Regions from separate parts of the Homo sapiens genome. Here all the other regions are linked to region 2. The links are contacts of gene promoters, found by promoter capture Hi-C in blood cells and fetal thymus (Javierre and others, 2016). All regions are on one chromosome and are shown on one strand. The core of a region is centred on a gene start or on the middle of the fragment in contact, and the rest is flanking DNA. Distances in the headings are between cores, read along the strand shown.

Region 1 (3,229 bases), core at 532-3,031, 160 kb after region 2:
TTCGACACTCATTTCCCTGTGTTCATCTTTTCCAGCCAGCTTCCTTCTCTTCTCTTCTTTTTTCTCTTTTCTTTTCTCTCTCTCCTTCCTTCCTTCCTTCCTTCCTTCCTTCCTTCCTTCCTTCCTTCTCCACTTCTTCTTTTAACATGGGATCTTGCTCTGTCACCCAGGCTGGAGTGCAGTCATGCCATCATAGTTCACTGCAGCCTCGAGCTCCCAGGCTCGAGCAATCCCCCTGCCTCGGCTTCCAGCTTCTTTCTTGTCATAGGATTGGAAAGATCATCACGTTCAAGATTAGGGTGAGAATCTAGGGAAATGGATCAATTAGGCAACTGTGGTGATCTTAAAGTATGCCCCCAAATTCTTTGACAATCTTCCCTTCAAAAGGCGTAAACTAATTATCTTTCCCTTGAAAGTGAGCTTGTTTTAGTGACTGGCCTCTAACTATGGAATGTGATGGAAATGCTGCTATGTGACTCCTGTGGCTAGGTCATCAAAAGGATAGTTTCAACCTAGCTCTCTCTCATCACTCATTCGGAGGTAAGCCAGCTGCCATGTCGTAAGGGCACTCAAGTATCCCTGGGAGGAGTCCACATAGAGAGGGGCTGAGGCTCTCCAGCAAGAGTCAGCACCAACTTGCCATCCAGTGAGTGAGCCACCTTGGAAATGGACCCTCCAGTTGAGCCTTCAGATGAGTCAGCCCCAGCTGAAATCTGATGTAACCTCATAAAATACCCTGAGACAGAACCACCCATCTAAGTTGCTTCAGAATTCTGAGTCACAGAAACTGTGAAAATAATAAAGCTTACTGTTGTTTTAAGCCACTAAGTTTGCAGTAATATGTTACTCAGAACTAAATAACTACTACAACAACCACTATGCCTTTAGTGTGTGTGTTTGAGTAAAGAAACAAGATGAGTTCCTGTGGCTGCTATGATCTAGCCTAATTTACAAGGGCTGGGGACTCCACAATGGAATTTGGGACTAGGGTGTCTTGGTAACAAACCAGGCTCATTTTCCTTGAGTGTCCATCAACCTAGATCTCTTGTGGATCTTGGGTGGCCCCTTCGCTGGTTGAAAGTACAAGAAACCATAGTCCCAGCTGTCTCATGGCTTCCCATAAGAAACATCACCAACCTCTGATATGTCTTACATTGGAGGCTTCTCTGTAGCCCCACTGCCACCTGGTCAAGGACTTATCTTAGGTTGGGATCTCCTATAAGCAAACCCTGAGATAAGAATCTGAGTATAAGTAGTTTATTTGGGAGATGATCTTAGAAGTTTCTGGTGGGGGAGTGGGGAAGTGAGACAGGGAAGGGAAGGCAGCCCTACAGGATGACTAAGGAGCAGATTAGTGGGCAGCTGAGGCTCAGTCATGCTGGGAACTTGGTGGTGCCCACCTGAGAGATGAGGAACCTGGAGTATTTATCATCTCTGCCCCTCTCTTGTTGAGGGTCATGCCTGGGGCTATTAACTCCTTAAGACTTCTGGTCTGCCCCGCACATAACCCTAGCATGGTTCAACAGTCAGAGAAAGCCCTCAGACAGTGAGATGCCCTGGGTATATACAGCAACAGTGAGAGCCGGTGGGCATGAGCAGGTTACTGACCACATCTGCTACAGAGCTCCATCCTATATCTGAATGATTGCAGCAGCCTCTCAACTGGTCTACTCCTCTTTGTTTTTTAACTTGGACCCTCTGATCTCTTGTCTACATAGAAACCCAGAGTGCAAATCTGATCAAATCACTAATTTCTTTTTTTGAATTAAATTAAAATTTTTTGGCCAGGCATGGTGGCTCACGCCTGTAATCCCAGCACTTTGAGAGGCCAAGGCAGGTGGATCTCTTGAGGTCAGGAGTTTGAGACCAGCCCGGCCAACATGGTGAAACTTCATCTCTAGTAAAAATACAAAAATCAGCTGGGCATGGCAGCGGGCACCTGTAATCCCAGCTACTCGGGAGGCTGAGGCAGGAGAATCTCTTGAACCCGTTAGGTGGAGGTTGCAGTGAGCCAAGATCAGGCTGCTGCACTCCAGCCTGGGCAACAGAGCCAGACTCTGTCTCAAAAAAAAAAAATTAACTTTTATTTTAAGGTAAGGAGTACAAATGCAGGTTTGTTACATAGGTAAACTTGTGTCATGGGGTTGTTTTGTACAGATTATCTCATCCCACAGGTATTAAGCCCTAGTACCCATTACTGATTTTTCTTGATCTTCTTCCTCCTTCTACCCTCCACCCACCGCCCTCCGATAGGCCCCAGTGTGTGTTGTTTCCCTCTATGTCTCCATGTGTTCCCATCATTTAGCTCCCAAACTTATAAGGGAGAACATGCAATATTTGATTTTCTGTTCCTGTATTAGTTTGCTAAGGATGATGGCCATATTTCTTAACACACGACACATTTCCCTGTTCCCTAAGGATGGAGTCCACATTCTTCACTAGCACCACACCTGTCATATCGAAACCATTTGGTGAACATTAACTTTTGTATCATTATTGTCATTGTTATTGTCATCATCGGCATCATCACCGTCATCATCATCACAGAGCATTAGGTGGAATACTCGTATCTCTGACTGGGAGGATCTCCTATTTCATGTTCTATCCACCCAGAACACACTTTCGTGAAGCCAGCAGCAGGTTTTCAGATATTTCATGCATTCTACCTTTATGACTGAATCATTACCTCTCTGAATGTCAGACTGTGTCTATTACTTCTTGTTTTTCCACCCTGCCTAGCCTAAGGATGGAAGCTTTAAGGGAACTTCATCATTTTTGGTTGAGATGTTCAATTAATTACCATCCCTTCCCATCTGATTCATAGTCAAGCCATCACCAAGTTCCATCAACCTCTTCCATCTCTTAAATCTGTCCACTTTTCCCCATCTCTAAGCAACCACCCAGCTCAGCTCCTTCATCTCTTGCCTGGATCACTGTGCTAGCTCCGTAATCATCATCCCTACATCCAGCATCACTTCTTCCCAATAGGTTCTCCACAAAGCAGCAGAAGTGACCTTTGAAAACCAACCCTAATCACATCAATTCACTTGTCTAAATGCCTCAGAGGTTTCTCATTGCTCTTAGAACAAAGCCTTAGTCATGTTCCTGCGCCAATGCCTACATGGATTGGCCTTTCTCCACCTCCCCTCCCACCTACCTTCCCTTCTGTGTTTGGATGCATGTGACACTGACTTTCTTACAGTCTCTCAAATGTTCCAGCATCCTTTCT
Region 2 (3,488 bases), core at 407-2,906:
ATGCTTCAGCAGTATGTCTATATTATTTCTTAAACATATGTAGATTGATGATTTGCATTTGGTTTACATGTTTACCCAGCCTGATTTAAGCTACGTAATGAGTGGGGTATACAAAATCCCTCTGTAAGCTGTGCCTTAGCTTCCCAAGACCAAGGGATTACACACATATCAAGAAGAAAGTGCTCTTTCTCATGATATAGAAATATTTCTTCATGTTACTGATAATGCAATAAAGTGTATATGCTTCTGAGTGATTTGCTAATGTGTATGTCAGCAACACATTCAGTATCCAGAATGGCTTGAAGTTATGCCTTCAGGGCCAAAAATAACATAATGTTAAATTCTGTAGATTCAATAACAGAATTTATTAAGAAATCTGCACTGTGAGGTAAATGATTAAACACTGACTCTTTCTCAACATTAGATAATTCTTTTTATTCATCAGAGAAATGTGATTTATGACACATTTAAAAGCATGTTTAAGGCCGGGCATGGTGGTGTATACCTGTAGTCTCAATTACGTGGGAGGCTAGGGTGGGAGGATTGCTTGAGCCTAGTAGTTCTAGGCTTCAGTGCGCCATGATCACACCTGTGAATAGCCACTGCACTCCAGCCTGGGCAACATAGCAAGATCCCATCTCTAAAAAGAAATTTTGTTTTAAAGCATGTTTAAAACATACATACACCAGCCTGGCCAACATAGTGAAACCCTGCCTCTACCAAAAATACAAAAATTAGCTGGGCGTGGTGGCACGTGCCTGTAATCTCAGCTACTCGGGAGGCTCAGGCAGGAGAATTCCTTGAACCCGGGAGACAGAGGTTGTGGTGAGCTGAAATTGTGCCACTGTGCTCCAGCCTGAGCAACAGAGGGAGACTCTGTCTCAAAAAACAAACAAACAAACAACAAAAAAACCATACATAGAAATGTTCCAGTAGAATACAAAGAACCACTTTCTAGAACTGAATGCACCAGAGAGGATTAGAAACCCACTTATTCTCTCCCAGCTTCAAGTATTTAACGTTCCTACTTTTGCACGTGGCAGCCTTGCTGACTCAGATCCGAGGGCGTTGAAAGACAGATTCACAATTTCTGGTCCATATTTGATGCAAATATTTAGAACTATCTAGCAGAGCTTGCTGCCTTTCCAACAATCCAGTTAGTGAATTGAGAATGTTCTCATTTAATAGAAATGAAAGGTAAACGAAGGATCCACCTGGCCATGGGACTGGAGGAATGACCCAAGCCATGCTTCATAGAGGCACAGATAGACACCCTCAGGGAAGCCGAGACCCTTTGAAAAAAGGGCCTGGTGTGTGTATTTTCACACTGCCCCCTGCTGGCTGACACTGGAACATTGATTCTTCCTGCTGACACTGGAACATTGATTCTCCTGTGGCTCTAAGACGACCTAACAGGATGAGGCCAGCGGGCCCCCCGCAAGGAAACTTGAGCTAGAGGCAGTTGGATTTGGCTGAGACGCTCTCCTCAGGGAAGGCCAGGTCTGGGAGTGGGTTTGAACAGCAGTGGAGAAATAACTTCCATAGGGCATGTCAGAGTAAGTTCTAGTGTTTCCAAGAGAATGGGACAGGATCTTAGTGGAATTTAGAAGCCAGGCAGGTGGAAAAGCATTGAGGACCCCATCCCAAGGGCTCGAGTCCCTAGAGACAGCCTGGAAAGATTGGGTGCCAGCTGCAGAGAGGAGAGCAAGGCGACCAAACGCAGGGTAAGGTCTGGAGGTGCTCATAGTTCACTACGGGACATGTACATGGAAGTGAATAATTATGTCACAAGGTGCCAAGGGGGCTAGTTACCTCACATAGGATCTTAGAAAAGGTCTCCTGGAGACCATGTCTGAGCTGGTCCTGAGGTGTGAGTAGGGATTCTCCGCAGGGCGGGGAAGGACTTGAAAGAGTCTGGCAATATGGAGCACATCAGGATTATGGAAGGTGAGCTTGGAGAACAAGGCAGAGTCTAGCCTGTGAAAGGCCTCTTGCAATTTGTTGAGGATCCATGACCTTCTCCCATGCATGGTGAAATGCCCTTAAAGGATTTTGAATAGATTTAAAAGACACTCAAAAACAAAAAACGGTAGATTCAAAATAGACGGTAGGGATCGCTTTCTTCCGTTTTCTTTGAAGGATCAGAAGTGTTTACCACCACCTGGATTGTTTTTGGGCTTTCAGGTGAGTGGGAAAACAAAGAAATTCATGCCTGATCATGTTGAGCCACTTATATAATGTTGCTTTGACACTAATGGAGATGTAACTTCTTTTAAGACATAATAGAATCTCCTAAGTGGGTGTGGGAGTCGTAAGAAGGAGGAATCTGGGCTTCTACAAGCAAGATAGCATGTATTCATTTATTCAGTCAGTCAGTCGCTGGATCGATGCGCTTAGCTTTGTGCTCTGTGCTGGGTGCTGTGTGGGATATAAAAGAAGGTGAGGCCGGGTGCGGTGGCTCATGCCTGTAATCCCAGCACTTTGGGAGGCCAAGGCAGGTAAATCATGAGGTCAGGAGATCGAGACCGTCCTGGCCAACATGGTGAAACCCTGTCTCTACTAAAAATACAAAAATTAGCTGGGCGTGGTGGTGTGTGCCTGTAATTCAGCTGCCTGGGAGGCTGAGGCAGGAGAATAGCTTGAACCAGGGAGTCGGAGGTTGCAGTGAGCAGAGATTGCACCACCGCACTCCAGCCTGGCAACAGACGAGACTCCGTCTCAAAAAAAAAAAAAAAAAAAAGAAGCTGAAATTCCAGCTCTTATCCCCCAAGGAATCTGTACATCTGTACTCTGCTTGGGAATCCACAGAAGAAGGAAAGAATGCCAGCAAAGTAAGATCATGCTGCATGACCTCAAGATAGATGTTAAGGACATTTTGATGGGATAAAGGGAATCTTTGCTAGTTCAGAGATGAGCTTTACTGGCTTTGAGCTAAGTGATAGACATAAGTGGGTGGAGTGCAACTGGGGAGAATTTCAGGCCTGGGTAAGGGCCAAGTGTGAATGGATGGTCTCATGTAGGAAGCCATCAGGATAGGCATAGCAAATCCAGGAGTCCTCTAACGATGGAAGGAAGACCTTTGCTGATGTAGGAATCGCATTGCAGGTCAGTACTCCTCAGTGAACCTGGAGACCCTGTTGCTTCCTGTTCCCTACCTCAAGGCACTCAGTCTTACAACTTTGGGCTACCTCTCTGAGACAGTAGACTCTGGAGATACTAGCCATATCTTCATCTTTAACATTCACTCAAGATGAGCTGATAAAGCACCTCTTTCATGAAATAGCCCTATAATTTCTATGATTAGAAGTTGAAACTACTCTCATCACATCTTTTGATGTTTATATGAACACTCTTCTGTTAAAAAAAAGATTGCCCTAGTTTTTAGGGCTAATATTAGATGTTTCTGGCATATTCTTTACAAAGCCTTCAAACTAAGTTATGGTATAATATTTGCAATTAGAAAAACAAATACCCAAGGCATGTTTAGA
Region 3 (3,555 bases), core at 251-2,750, 180 kb before region 2:
TCTTCTGACCCCTGATTGCTATTCCTGCCTGTGCCTTTTGCACTTCCAGGACTACTTCAGATTTCCTTTCTTCTAGGTGAATCCCCACTTCTAAATTCCTAATCCCCACCCCCACTAACTTTTATTTGCCTAAGCTAGGTAGGCAGGCTTCTTAGTTTTAATGATTAGAGATAAAATATTTCAGATTGATTTCTTTACCATAATCTAAGCCCATAATTCTATTGGAGAAAAAGTTCATTCTTGCTAGGATTTGATAAAGTACTTGAGGAGGAAGATATGATATTGGAGGTTTCGAGGCAGTAATCACTCAGTTGTCACATTCCCCACCCTCTTAAATTGCCCTTAAAATGGATGTTTTTAAGCATCCATAGTTCTCCCTAGGTTTTACGGTACAAACTACATTGTTGGGGTGAAATGGAAGAAGCAAGAATGCTGATATGTTCTTCTGCCTCTTTTTTGTAGTTCTCATATGTGTATTTTCTGTCCCTTTTTCATTATTTGTGTAACTTTCTTCATTTACAAGAGAAATAAGTTCACTGCAGAAAATGCAGAATGGTAAAATGAGGAAAACAAATAATTTAAAATCTCACTAGCCAGAAAAACACCACTTTCTGTTATTTTGGTAGTAACAGAAAATATTTTACTGATATTTTGGGTGTATTTCTTTTTTTTTTTTTTTTGGTTGTGATTGTTGTTTGAGACAGGGTCTCACTCTGTCACCCAGGCTGGAGTGCAGTGACATGATCATAGCTTCCTGCAGCCTTGACCTCCTGGGCTCAAGTGATCCTCCCACTTCAGCCTCTTGGGTAGCTGGGACTACAGGCATGCACCACCACGCCCAGCTAGTTGTTATTGTTGTTTTTAGTAGGAATGGGGTTTTGCCATGTTGCCTAGGCTGGTCTCGAATTTCTGAGCTCAAGTGATTGGTCTCCCAAAGTGCTGAGATTACAGGCATGAGCCACTGTGCCCAGCCTTGATGTATTTCTTTCCAGAGATTTAAGACAAGTATTTGAGTGTTCTTTTATAAAATTCTCATCAACACACAATCTGCTTTATGAAGACTTTAACTTTGTATCATATCGTGGCATCTCAATGTTATTAGAAACAGAACTTGTAATTGTGACATATAGCAAATCATGGATCTAACTTTTCCACTTGCATTGGGACTTTGGATTGTTTCTAATGCTTTGCTATAATAAATAACAGCCTAGTTTATATTGACCTTATTGTATCTGATTGCTTTAATTTTGAGTTTCAGTGAAGCCAAACACTTCTGCCAGCATTCCTTGGCCATTTATATTCTTTCATTGTGCCTATTCTTCTCCCTAGCCCCTTTATTCCTGCGGAGTAATACTGGTGATCAAAGATACTGCATCATACAGAACAATTACAGAGAAGATCCCTGGATCTGATAGCACTTTGAGGGAATAGAGGGAGAACCAGCCGCACCACCAGCCAGATCTGTGCCTGTCATTACTGATAGCCCTAGGATAGGGGGATGTTTACTCTGTCTCTGTTTAGGGGGAGCAGTTTTTGTTGTAGAAGGAAGTGTCTGTATCTACAGATCTGTGTCTGTAGCTCCGTTCTTGCTCTTTTCACTTTCTGATATACAGATGATGTTCTGTATACCTGTGTCAGTGTATAAGGATTATCTTCATTGTTTTTTATAACTGCAAAGTGATCCATGGTATAGATACACCATAATTTATTTAATTACTGCAGATAGACATCTAGACTGTTTCTAATGTTTTGCTATTACAAATAGCACTACCCTGAATAACCTGGCACATAAGTTGTTTCACTCAGGTGTAATTGAAGGATAGATTTCCAAGAGTGAGATTTTTGAGTCAGAGGGGATGTGCCTTGGTAAGCTGAGGGGGCTACTCACCAAATTGCCCTCTGTTGAGGAATTTCGTCAGCAATGTGTAAATGCCTGTTTTCTTGCATGCTTGGCAGCAGAATATGTGGTCAGACTGGGCTCTTGTCCCGATTAGTAGGTAGAAAGAGGTTTCTCATTATAGTTTGGTGGAGTCTCGTTCTGTTGCCCAGGCTGGAGTGCAGTGTCATGTTCTCGGCTCATTGCAACCTCTGCCTCCCAGGTTCAAGCAATTCTCCTGCCTCAGTCTCCCAAGTAGCTAGGATTACAGGCGCGAGCCTCCATGCCCAGCTAACTTTTGTATTTTTAGTGGAGATGGGGTTTCACCATGTTGGCCAGGCTGGTCTCGAACTCCTGACCTCAAGTGATCCACCCGTCTTGGCCTCCCAGAGTGCTGGGATTACAGGCGTGAGCCACCGCACCCGGCCTCTCATCATAGTTTTAATGTATATCTTCTTATGAGTAAGGTTGAGCATCTTTTTACTGTTCAAGAAGCATGTTTATTTCCTTAGTTATTTTCCTGTTGGGATGTTAGCCCTTTTCTTGTTGGGTTTGTGTCCCTTCCATATTTACATTTTAGAGACATGGGTTTGTTATCTGTAATGTGTTAGCACCTGGAAAGAATGGGAGAGGACGGTCCGTTTTGGGTGGAGTGCTGTAATGTGCTGCGTGGCCTCAGGATCTGTTCTTGAATCCATCTGGGGACAGGATCCCCAGGGACATCTCTTAGAAACCTCACCTAGCAGGGAAGATGTTTGAAGTGCCCAACCTAGTGCCAGGCATGAATATGTGCCAGGCAGACAGTAGCAGTCACCAGCACCACCTGCCTGGGGTGTGGGAGGAGCACACACTGCAGAGTGTTTCAGTGTGGACCTTGGCAGACACATCACCCGCCCGAGCTCTGCTGTGGGCCGGCATGGGGAGAGGTAAGGCTCCTTCTGGCTCCTCTTGTCGCCCTACTGGGGGACAGGTGAGATGCAGCTGGAATCCCCGGGGTGCTTCTGGCTGCCACAGCCTTAGCCTTCTGGAGAAGGCAGCCCTAAGAAGACCAGGCTGGGCCAGGCGAGTGGTGGAGGCTGAGCCATCCAGCAGCATCACCTGCACTGGGGAGTTACAGGAGCCATCCTGTGGGAAGAGGCAGTGAAAGCAAAATTAGAGGCTTTGCGGCATCAGCCAGATTCAAGGTCGCTAGTGTCATGTTAGATCTATCGGCTGCTGCATCTTTTTGAGATGATGTAATCTAGATTGACAAGCTTTGGGTGTTTAGAATATGTTGTACTGTACTCACTTGAATTTATTTTTCATAGTGGTTAATTTTGAAATTTCTAATAATATTGAAAGTAGGTGGAAAGTTTTCATGTTCATAGTAAAGGAGCTTGCAGTAAAGGCTGGGAAACACGAATCTATTATCTTCTGTATTCAAAACACATTTTAATTGTGGAGTAGATTTGGATACAAGAGGAAATAACGGTGTGTGCACACATTGAGGAGGGGGATTAATAACTGTGTGTTACCTTTCTTTTAAAAGAATAGAAAGCAGAAATTTGGGGAACTTTATTACTATTCTGAAAGCGATTGGTTTAGTATAAAGTGGTTCTCTTAGCGGCCAGACACGATATAGTAAGTGGGAAATTGAGTTCTGAACACTCTCATTGGAGGTGTGGGGTTTTGCAGGTGCT
Region 4 (3,430 bases), core at 801-3,300, 160 kb before region 2:
AGCTTTGTCTGCTGCAGCTTCCAGTGGGAGGGGAGGGCAGCCGGGCTCAGGGACAAGGTGGGTGGTGACATAGCTGATGGAGGCCTCCGGCGTCTTTGATACTTCCCTCCTCTGTCTTCAGCACCCTTTTCCCTTTCATAGGATGAACGCGGGACGTTTTGGAGAAAGGGGACAACGTGGGGAGGGTCTTTTCTTAAATGCACACTCCTGGACTGAATATGCTTTGGTTTTAACTTGGACTCTGTTCTGAGGTCGGACTTAGCATTTTTCCCTTCTCAAGTTTGTGTGGTCAGTTCAACCTAAGGTATCTCAGGTGCCGAGAAAATCCATCTCATTGTCCAGAGAGGTTGATTCACCCTGGGGTGGGGCTGCCAACAGCTGGGTACTTTGGTTGAGTTTCCAGTTGCCCCGCCCTTCCCTCACCCCGTTTCAGGTATCACAGCCCATGGTAACCCCGACTGGCAGGTGTCTGTTGAGTAGGGGAGGAGTCAGAGCAAAAGGAGCTGAGTGGCCTCGGCAACTAGTCTACCTTGGGCTGAGCATTCTGAACCAGATTCAGGAAGGACACTTTTTGGAATGTTTATCTTATAAATGTTCCCAGCAGTCTTCCCTGGTCAGATAGGAGTGGGAAACCCTGCCTGCATCATGCCCTTCCTGACGATTCAGAGTACATAAAGTTGTGAGCAGCCCTGAGACATCCTGAACAGGAGTATTTCACCCCAGGAAACTCCTTTACAGTCGGGCTTCATGGGCTGCATGTGGCATGTTTGGCTAACGTGGGCAGGAATGGGAAGCTGCTGGAAGAAAAGTAGGAAGTTTGCAGAACAGAAATAAGAACTGGTCAACAGGGGAAGGGAGGGAAGTGAGTCGTGAGTGCTGGGACTATCCTACCAGGGCTACAGGTGTGGCGGGGGGTTGGGGGGACTCCCAAAGGAAAGTGGGATGGGGTTCTTTCTGGAAGATTCCCATGGCTACTGTACGCCCTTAACCCTGCCCTGACTGGAACAGACGAATTCTTTGTTTTCGAAAACAATGCCAGCTCACAGAAAAAGACAGAAAACACTCCATGCGTATGTAACTTATGAAGCTTATGTAACTTTAATCCCCAGACATGAAAGAACTTTTTTAAAGAAATAGACTAATTAACCTAGAAATGTAGATGCAAAATTCTGTATAAAATATTAGCAAATCAAATCCCAGAAGAAAAATACAGTATGACTAACTAGGGTTTGTTTCAAGCATGCAAGAATAGTTCAGCACATCACAATTCATGATAACAGATTAGAGGAGAAAGGCCTTATGGTTTTAGCAATTTATGCCAGAAAAGCATTTTGGGGAAGAAACCCAAATATTTCTAATAAGAATTACATAAGTAAAATATCACCAGTGCTGATATTGACTGTTTCCTTTGTGAGGCATGGATTCATCCAAGTAATAAGTAATAATGACAGTGAATAGTAAGACAATAAAATGTAATGAAAAGGAGAAATGCAGCTGGGCGTGGTGGCTCACGCCTGTAATCCCAGCACTTTGGAGAGGGAGAGGCAGGCGGATCGCTTGAGCCCAGGTGTTTGACACCAGCTTTGCCAACACGGTGAAAACCCATCGCTACAAAAAATACAAAAATAAGCTGGGCGTGGTGGTGCGCCCCTGTAATCCCAGCTATTTGGGAGGTTGAAGCAGGAGAATTGCTTGAGCCTGGGAGGTGGAGGTCACAGTGAGCCAAGATCGCACCATTGCACTCCGTCGAGGGCAATGGGAGTGAAACTGTCTTAACAACAAAGGAGAAATACTGAAAAAGAAGGAAAAAAGTATGGCTTGGTCGAAAAACCAAGGAGATTCTTTATGTGGGCTATTTTTTAACGACAATAAGAGAGAAGAATTAGGATGAAATCAAGAATAAATGAGGAAGGGTTTACTGTTTCTCCTCTGACCCTTTTCCTGCCCACAGCACTACCTGACATGCTTCAGCGGCACGATCGCAGTGCCCTTCCTGTTGGCCGATGCCATGTGTGTGGGGTACGACCAGTGGGCCACCAGCCAGCTCATTGGGACCATTTTCTTCTGTGTGGGAATCACTACTTTGCTACAGACAACGTTTGGATGCAGGTGAGATTGGGGTACTAATGGGGGATGCCAAAGCCCCCAGAAGGCATTGAGCGCAGAAGGCATTGAGCTGCGCCGTTTGCCTAGGGCTGTTGGCAAGGACAGAATGGAGGCACGGGAATGTCCTAGTGGCCGTTGGTCCCCACCCCTCAGTGTTCCTCCCAGTCATTTCCTCTCTTGGTGAATGGCACCACCGCCACCTTCCCCTACCCAGTTGTCCAAGCTGGAAACTCAGCCTCACTCTCCTTCCCCTGCCCCCTTGGCAAGTCATGCTCGCTCCCCAGCACCCCTCTGTGCCCCTATTCCTTACGTTCAGACCAGAGTGTCCCACCAGGCTCCCCGTTGGCTTCCCTGCCTCCAGGGCACTGCTCTTGGACTCACTTTGTGCCCCACACCCAGTGCCATCTTTCTACTTCCACACCCTCCTCAGGGTGAGCCACACTGCAGCTCTCCTCCCTTTTTACACACCAGGCTGCACCCAGCATTTAGGCTTGCCCTTGCTCTCTGCCCCACTTCCATCTCCAGCCATGCCTCTGAGCCCTGTCTCCTGCCTTCCCTGGCCTCACTCCCAAGGGCCCGCTGTCTACCTTCTTGTGTGTCTTCCCTCAACCCGCCTGGCACACAACAGCTCATCCTCCAGGCCCAGCTTGTCCTGCCCTCCCGACTCTGTGGAGCCCTTCATTGTTCTCTGAATTCCCACCTTGTTTTCATCCTTCCAGTGTGGCCTTTATTCCAGTTTGTCCTTTTTGTTTCTATGTCTTTTTCCCACGGTGCTTCCTCCTTGATGCCAGGGCTTTGGCTTGTTCACTTCTGCATTTCCAGCCACCAGCTTAAATGGACGTGGAGCTGGCACAGGAAGGAAGAGAAACATCCTTATCTACCTTCCTACCTCCTCCTGCAAGCTTGTCTTTTCCTCTCCTTTCCTGCTCCTCTCCCCTCTTCGCAGTGCAGCCTCTTGCTTTACCCCAGGGCACTGCTCAGGAAGTGGAGCCTGCTCTGGCAGGACTGTCCTAAGTTCACGGCCAGCTGTCTCTTGCTCTGTCAGAGACAGGCTGAGTAAGGCCTGGCCCTCCCTGCGGTGGGAGGTGGGTGTGAGCTGAAGTCAGGGACTGCATTCTGATGAGTCAGAATCCTTCGGGACCTCAGGGTTGCCCTAACGCGGCACGGGGATAGGGGAGCCTTGGAGGGCGGTGAGCCATGTGCAGGTGTTCTGGTTGCCAGGATAGGCCACACCCTGGGAGGGTAGGCTGCAGGTCTGCTGATGGAAAGAAGCTATGTGGACTAAAGGCTTTGGGGCTGGCAAGCTCTGATGGTTCCCAGATCC
Region 5 (3,513 bases), core at 407-2,906, 230 kb before region 2:
CACCCACCTCAGCCTCCCAAAGTGCTGGGATTACAGGCATAAACCACCGCGCCTGGCTGGTTTTTGCTTTTTAAATCAGGAGGAAGTGTTTTGTCAGCCTTTTTGGCATCTACTGAATTGATAGAATGATTTGGCTGTTCAAAGGTTCTGGCCTGTTATGATACTGGCCCTGGCATTCTCTCCTTCCTGCTTTTGAAGAGTTAACATCCCTTTTTAAGGAAATGATGTTGAGTCAGTGGTAGATGTTAAATAACATAGTAAGATACACAGATGGCAATTCTGTAGTATTTCTTCCCCAGTTTTTTGTTGAATGTTTTCTGTATGAAGTCAGTGTCTGGAAACCACAGCATGTAGTATGTACTTTTGCACATCCTAATTAAGAAGCAACAGAAGCACTGTGAACAGATTCTTGAGAGTTCAGCGGGCCTTGATGGGGGAAAGTCATGTGGCCATGAGTGTGTCCCAAGTGATGTTTCCTCTGACCTGCCGCAGCGCCCAGGCTTTGATCTCAGCCCCGTAGCCTTGCGTGCAAAGGACAGTTTTCATGTTTCCAGAGTGCGGTGGAACCCACGAATGGGAGGGGCATTCAGCGGAGCGCTCTGCCAGAAGTTCAAGGTTGCTTACTGATAGCTCAGTCTTGTTTTTGTTTGTATCGTGATTCCTTCTTAACTCCTTCCTCAGAGATTCCTTTCTCAAAAATGTATTTGCATGTTCCCAGTATTAAAACCTCTGACCCAGTTCTGTGGTTTGGTCTCAGTACTTGTTCTGTGCAGTAGTTAAGTCCTTCCAGCCATCTTGCCACTCAGCTTAGAAAAATACTCTCCAAAAACATGTCTTTAAGGAGTCATAGTACTTTCGCTTCCCCATTCAGAATTTTCCAATGATTTGTAGCTAAAAATGACATTCTGTTAATTTGCACTTTGCCCTCATGGAGCCGTTTTTAATTAATAGTTTTTTAAAGGATTTGCAAAAGAAGCATACACATGTTGAAAAATAATTCTAGCTTGTCAGACTTGTGTTTAGTAAATTGAGAAGGTCACACGATCTTTTCTTATGTCCCCCCACCACTTCAAAGCAGTTTGATCTGTATCCTTGCCAGCCCTGTTCTGTGTACACAAATGCATACTATGTAATTATCCTTTTAATAAAAGTGAAATCATAACCACACATATTGTACAACCTGTATTTTTCAAGGAACTGTATTTGTTATTATAACTTAACTGAAAGTAAGCCATTCTTTTAAAGTGTCTCTCTTGTTTTCTTTTCTCATGTTCTTTTCATTATTCCTCTTGACTAGACATTGATGGATGTCACCTTTGTGCCTCCCTTCTGACATTGCAAATTTCTGATAAACATAGCTTAAGGCTTGGCATAGTGGCTTGTGCCTGTAATCCCAGCACTTTGGGAGCCGAGGCGGGTGGATCACCTAAGGTCGAGTTCAAGACCAGCCTGGCCAGCATGGTGAAACCGTGTCTCTACTAAAAATACAAAAAATTAGCCAGGCATGGTGGCGGGCACCTGTAATCCCAGCTGCTCGGGAGGCTGAGGCAAGAGAATCGCTTGAACCCGGGAGTGGAGGTTGTAGTGAGCCAAGATTGCGCCACGGCACTCCAGCCTGGCTGATAGAGCGAGACTCTGTCTCATTTAAAACAACAACAACAACAAAAAAACCCCAAAAAACCCCCCAAAAACCCCCACATAGCTTAAGATAGATTTATGTGTAGAGATTTTATTTTGAGAAATAAATTACTACTTTTTTTTTCCTTGCATGCAAAATGTTTTAGAAAGGGAAAGACATCAATTTCTTCATTCACGTTCTAATAATTTAAAGTGAGTATTTTTTCCCAAATAGCACAAGACCAGTGTTTAGTTTCCAAAATTAAAAAAAAAAAAAAGACTCATTAATGGTTCCTTGAAGGCTGGACTGGTACCAGTCTGATGGCATTTGTGTGCTATTTAACTTGGGGCCGTTGGCGATTGTTGATGCTAACTTGCCCAAGAACAAATGGTAAAAGTTGATGTCTCAACATAAGGATTTTCCAGTGAAAATCTGGCTAAACTGTTGGTTGCCTTGCACGTTTTTCTTCACAAGGGAGGGCCAGGCTCATGGCTGGGGCTGGGATGGCTGTTCCCAAGACAGCCACTGAGTCAGGCTCTGGGTTCCCTTTATTGTGGAACATATGCATAGGTACAAGAGTGGATAAAACATAGCCGTTTAATAAATAGTAAAAGAAACATCTGTGTACCTGCTCATATCCCAGTTTGAGAAACAGAATGTGACCGGCTTTTTGAGAAGCACCCTCCCCGTGTGCTAGTACATTTTTAAGAGGCTTTAACAGAAAGTGACTTATTTATTTATTTTTTTTAAATCAAAGACCCTGTGCTAGGGAATATGGAGTTTAAAAGTTATCAATGGAGAAATCCCAACTGAGTGCAAATCACTTTTTTTGCTTTTGTTTTGAGATGGCGTGTTGCTCTGTTGCCCAAGTAGGACTGCAGTGGCACAGTCATGGCTCACTGCAGCCTTGACCTCCTGGGCTCAAGGAATCCTCCTGCCTCAGCCTCCTGAGTAGCTGTGACTACAGGTGTGTGCCACCACGACGAGATAATTTTTTTTTTTTTTTTTTTGTAGAGACAAGGTTTCACTATGTTGCCCAGGCTGGTCTTGAACTCCTGGCCTCAAGTGATCCTCCCATCCCAGCCTCCCTACAGGTGTGAACCACCGTGCCTGGCCCAAAATTGCTTTTTATTTATTTATTTATTTTTGAGACAGAGTCTCACTCTGTCATCCAAGCTGGAGTGCGGTTGCACAGCTCACTGCAACCTCAACCTCCTGGGCTCAGGTGATTCTCCACCTCTCAGTCTCCTGAGTAGCTGGGATCACAGGTGTGCACCACCACACTTGGCTAATTTGTGTGTGTGTGTGTGTGTGTGTGTGTGTGTGTGTTTTGTAGAGACCACCCTATTGCTCAGGCTGGTCTCGAACTCCTGGGCTTAAGTGACCTGCCTGCCTTGACCTACCAAAGTGCTGGGGTTACAGGTGTGAGCCACTGTGCCTGGCTGAAAAGTTTTTTTATAGGTGTTCTAAAATACTATCTTTCAAAATACTTTGTAGAAATGGAGAGTGGATTTTTAAAGAATTGAGGGTGCAGTTTGTGACCCTGCCTAGAGACAGGCTGGGGCCTTGGAGGCAGTCCATAAAAATGAAGTAGTAATAGAGCAAATTCTAGGATTGGGCATGGCTGGGTGAAAAATAGACTCCATTCATGCAGAGTACCTCCTGCTAGGTTTGTTATTACTTTTAATTTACCATTTGCTTTTCTCCAGCTAGGTCTTGACTCCACTAACGGGGACTTCTCATACGGCTTTGAACTTGGACCTTGGTGCATAAGCAAATGTAACTCAGCGAATTGTAATGGAAAGCATATGGACAGGTCTACGCCACATCACTTAGGTGCGTGTAAAACACAATCTCCAGTTGTGTTTCCTTTTCCTTTTCTTACTTTTTCTGAA
Region 6 (3,431 bases), core at 730-3,229, 130 kb before region 2:
GCTAATGATTCCATCTCAACAATTGGAACTGTGCCCAGGAACAATTAAGCTTAGCTTTGACTGAGAACCTACTCTTCCTGCCAGCTCTACCTCAGGTTGTAAGTGAAAGAGCGAGACCGCGTGGAGGCTTAGACGCATTGTTGGGCACGAGTTTTGTTTCGGTGATGAGTAAAAATCCACCTGGGGGATGGGAAGTGGCCCCACACCTGCCAGCCCCGTGGGACACCAGACCGATGTCATGGACTGGTGTGTCAGGAAGTGCCATGGTCCTGCCGTGGAGGGGTCAGCACCTGCCTCCCATAGCACTTAGTGCAGTTCAGTCAGGACCGTGAGGCTCAAGGAGAGGGACTTACGCAGCCCAGCCTCCTTGCCCTGTGACCAGGGTGGCAAAAGGAAAGAGTTCAGTTCAAGCCATAGAGCTAGATTCCTGGTCCCCAGTGCTACAACCCTAGCCGTGTGATCTTGGACCTCTGGCTTTGTCTCTGTGAAAAGGAGACCATCTTAGAAGCCACCCCGTAAGGTTGAGATGCTGCACAGGAAGACATTAGTGTAATGTCTGGCACACAGAAGCCTCCCAGGAATGTTATTAATACTGAATTCTACTGTATCTACTTTTCTTGAGCAGTGAAGCTTACTTTTTGCTCTTTTAAAAGTAATTTATGCGTGCTGTAAGTAGATTGGAAAATACAGAAAAGTGGGAAAACCAGTTGCAAATCATGTAACTACTCAAAGCGAATCCCTGGGAGAATTTTGGATCATGTCCTTCTTACCTGTTTGTGTGTACGTGCAGTAGTTTCTTGGTTTGCTTTGTAGTTAATTCATAGTTATAATCTTACAGTTTATGTTGTATCTGGCATCCTTTCCCTTTACATAGAGTAAGCGTTTCCCATCAATGTGTACATTCTTTGGGTTTTCTTATTCTATTTAGGAAAAGCTGTCCTAAGGCATTTACATCAGAATTTCATTTCAGTATCAAGAAATGCTAGGCAAATTAGTTGTAACATCTTCCCCCACAGTAGTATTTCCAAAAGATGTACATTCCAATAGATATACTATTTCTCAAATGGTAGTTCAGAGGACTAGCAGCTTTCTAGGTAAATGAATTGAACACTATGTCAATTTTGCCATAGAAGCTTCGAGTGTTATTTTATAACAGAGACATAACAGCTTTTGACCTAGTTTGTTTTCTTTCTCTCCTCAGGACAATATTCCTAGTATTACTGTTTTCTCAATACGCCAGAAATGTTAAATTTCCTCTCCCGATTTATAAATCCAAGAAAGGATGGACTGCGTACAAGTTACAGCTGTTCAAAATGTTCCCTGTGAGTAGCTGACTTCTTCCCCTGCTGACATTTTTGCCCTTGGTTAATATGTAAGATGATTAAGTGAAGGGAGGGTTTTAAGCAGGCCCTCCTTGGGGGATCATATCTGTGCAGTGAGACCAGGCTACTAATGACCACTCAGATCATCATAGACTTAAACATTCTGATTCTGAAATGGGAGCACATCCTTTTAGCAGTGCCGAAGGAAGGGGACACTGTCCTTGGGACTGAGTAAGATTTGACTCCACGTGGCCTCTGCAGGCACGATGTCCATTCTTGTTTTACCAGCCAGACTTTGGAATGGGTAAGATAAGTTCACCTGAATGAAACTGCTCTCTCAGTGAGAGTCCATTCAAGGAAGGTCTGCAAAGTACTGACTGTGGTGGGCTCTGGGGTGTGATATTCCGACCGCGGGAAGACGTGTTTTTTGCCAACACCTGTGAGCCCTGCTGGCCTGACAGAGCTTCCCCTTGACCACTCCAGATCATCCTGGCCATCCTGGTATCCTGGCTGCTCTGCTTCATCTTCACGGTGACAGATGTCTTCCCTCCCGACAGCACAAAGTATGGCTTCTATGCTCGCACAGATGCCAGGCAAGGCGTGCTTCTGGTAGCCCCGTGGTTTAAGGTTCCATACCCATGTAAGTATTCTGATGGCTAGAGGGGTCAAGAGCCCACGAGGGCCCAACTGAGAGGGGTGGGAATTTGGCAGAACAGCCGTCTTTGTCCCAGACTGTCTCCTGAAGGCCTTGCCATTCTGGTCAGGAGAGGATTAGACAGCAAGTAAGGGAGGCCCTGTCCCCAGAGGGCAGAAACCAACACACAGAGACTGACCGGCTCCCTTCTCACATTAGCGAGCTGTCTCTTTTGGATCTGCTAGGATGAAATCCTGGACAAGGGGTCTCTTGCCAGGTTTAAGCTCTGGTGGCCAGGATTTGAGGGCAGCTGCTTAGATAGGCAAGTATAGAGCTGCTTGGTCCCAGAGCTGCCAAAGTGGAAAGATGTGAGTGGGAACAGCCTGGGGATTAGCAAGCAACCTGCTCAAGCATGATGGAATTTATATAATCTCTTAATGGGCAGCCATAATCTTTTAAATTTGGCCACAGCTGTAGAGGTAAGTTGATAGTCACTAATGGCCAAAAGCTGCATCTTAATTTGAGTGTTGTGTAACTGTTGGGGGTGTGAATACATTCCCTAGCTGGGGTGTCACCTGGACTCGCAGCTGGCCCCGTGTAGGTGATCCCAGTGGTTGTTACACACTTGGTTCCATTGTGAAGACTCTAGTCCCGGCGTCTGGGTTTTTATTAGAATTGGAGCCTGAGCTTAGTCAGGTTCAGCCCACTTCTTTCCCTGTGTAACCATCTTATTTTCATTTTTTATAATGACAAGGAGAAAAAGAGAGAAGCCAAGAATTTTAAGGTTGGGTTAAAGATGACTGCTCTGAGCATGTTGAATGATGAGTGTTGGCTGTTCTTTTTGTTCTCAATACACTTAGGAAAGCTTTAAAAAGTTTCGTCTTTCAGGCCGGGCGCGGCGGGACATGCCTGTAACCCCAGCACTTTGGGGAGGCCGAGGCAGGAGGATCACCCGAGGTCAGGAGTTCAAGACCAGCCTGGCCAACATGGTGAAACCCCATCTCTACAAAAATACAAAAATGAGCCAGGCCTGATGACGGGTGTCTGTAATTCCAGCTACTCGGGAGGCTGAGGCAGGAGAATCGCTTGGATCTGGGAGGCGGAGGTTGCAGTGAGTCGAGATTGCGCCACTGCACTTCAGCCTGGGAGACAGAGCAAGACTGTCTCAAAAAAAAAAGTTTCATCTTTCTAAAATAACTTTCTCATCAGATTGTATGGTCTAAGTGTGCATTTATACAGACCTATTCTTTTTCCAAGAAAGAATGTGCATGGTTCATAAACATACCTGTAGTCTGAGATAAAATGAAATTACAATTAGTTGGTGAGGCAGTCAGGGTGAGGGCGAGGCGGGGGTGGCAGGTAGGTAGAAGCCCCCACAGCGTATACAAGGTGGTCTTCTGCTTGTGCAGGCAACTCCCAAGGTGGGCGCCAGTAGGGGCACAAGCTGGGCTGTCCAGGAGAGGCAGCTGTACAGG

The links. The method cuts DNA at HindIII sites, captures the fragments that hold promoters and counts their contacts. A CHiCAGO score of 5 or more calls a contact.
Region 1: a contact is called between a fragment that was not itself captured here and the fragment with the promoter of PRNT in region 2, in 2 of 17 cell types (activated CD4 T cells and M1 macrophages). The highest score is 5.6, in activated CD4 T cells.
Region 3: a contact is called between a fragment that was not itself captured here and the fragment with the promoter of PRNT in region 2, in 2 of 17 cell types (megakaryocytes and naive CD4 T cells). The highest score is 6.4, in megakaryocytes.
Region 4: a contact is called between a fragment that was not itself captured here and the fragment with the promoter of PRNT in region 2, in 3 of 17 cell types (megakaryocytes, M1 macrophages and M0 macrophages). The highest score is 7.1, in megakaryocytes.
Region 5: a contact is called between a fragment that was not itself captured here and the fragment with the promoter of PRNT in region 2, in 4 of 17 cell types (total B cells, megakaryocytes, naive CD4 T cells and 1 more). The highest score is 7.3, in total B cells.
Region 6: a contact is called between a fragment that was not itself captured here and the fragment with the promoter of PRNT in region 2, in 1 of 17 cell types (M0 macrophages). The highest score is 5.1, in M0 macrophages.

The regions. Positions count from the first base shown.
Region 1 is chr20:4,582,830-4,586,058 of GRCh38, reverse strand. No RefSeq gene overlaps it. Among named protein-coding and RNA genes, the nearest start is that of PRNP, 100 kb to the left of the region's middle. The HindIII fragment of the contact is 1,949 bases long and covers 807-2,755 here.
Region 2 is chr20:4,738,836-4,742,323 of GRCh38, reverse strand. It overlaps PRNT (prion locus lncRNA, testis expressed), which reads left to right and starts at 1,656. Exons shown (of 2, transcript NR_024269.1): 1 at 1,656-1,724. The HindIII fragment of the contact is 12,166 bases long and covers 1-3,488 here.
Region 3 is chr20:4,918,728-4,922,282 of GRCh38, reverse strand. All of the region lies in intron 3 of SLC23A2 (solute carrier family 23 member 2), which reads left to right. Among named protein-coding and RNA genes, the nearest start is that of SLC23A2, 81 kb to the left of the region's middle. The HindIII fragment of the contact is 3,263 bases long and covers 1-3,131 here.
Region 4 is chr20:4,898,234-4,901,663 of GRCh38, reverse strand. SLC23A2 (solute carrier family 23 member 2) reads left to right here. Exons shown (of 17, transcript NM_005116.6): 6 at 1,952-2,109. Among named protein-coding and RNA genes, the nearest start is that of RASSF2, 76 kb to the right of the region's middle. The HindIII fragment of the contact is 1,921 bases long and covers 1,090-3,010 here.
Region 5 is chr20:4,970,734-4,974,246 of GRCh38, reverse strand. It overlaps SLC23A2 (solute carrier family 23 member 2), which reads left to right. Exons shown (of 17, transcript NM_005116.6): 2 at 3,328-3,454. Among named protein-coding and RNA genes, the nearest start is that of SLC23A2, 29 kb to the left of the region's middle. RefSeq lists enhancers at 361-670, 1-1,125 and a silencer at 738-938. The HindIII fragment of the contact is 5,275 bases long and covers 1-3,513 here.
Region 6 is chr20:4,872,467-4,875,897 of GRCh38, reverse strand. SLC23A2 (solute carrier family 23 member 2) reads left to right here. Exons shown (of 17, transcript NM_005116.6): 10 at 1,202-1,322; 11 at 1,806-1,962. Among named protein-coding and RNA genes, the nearest start is that of RASSF2, 51 kb to the right of the region's middle. RefSeq lists an enhancer at 34-183. The HindIII fragment of the contact is 1,688 bases long and covers 1,136-2,823 here.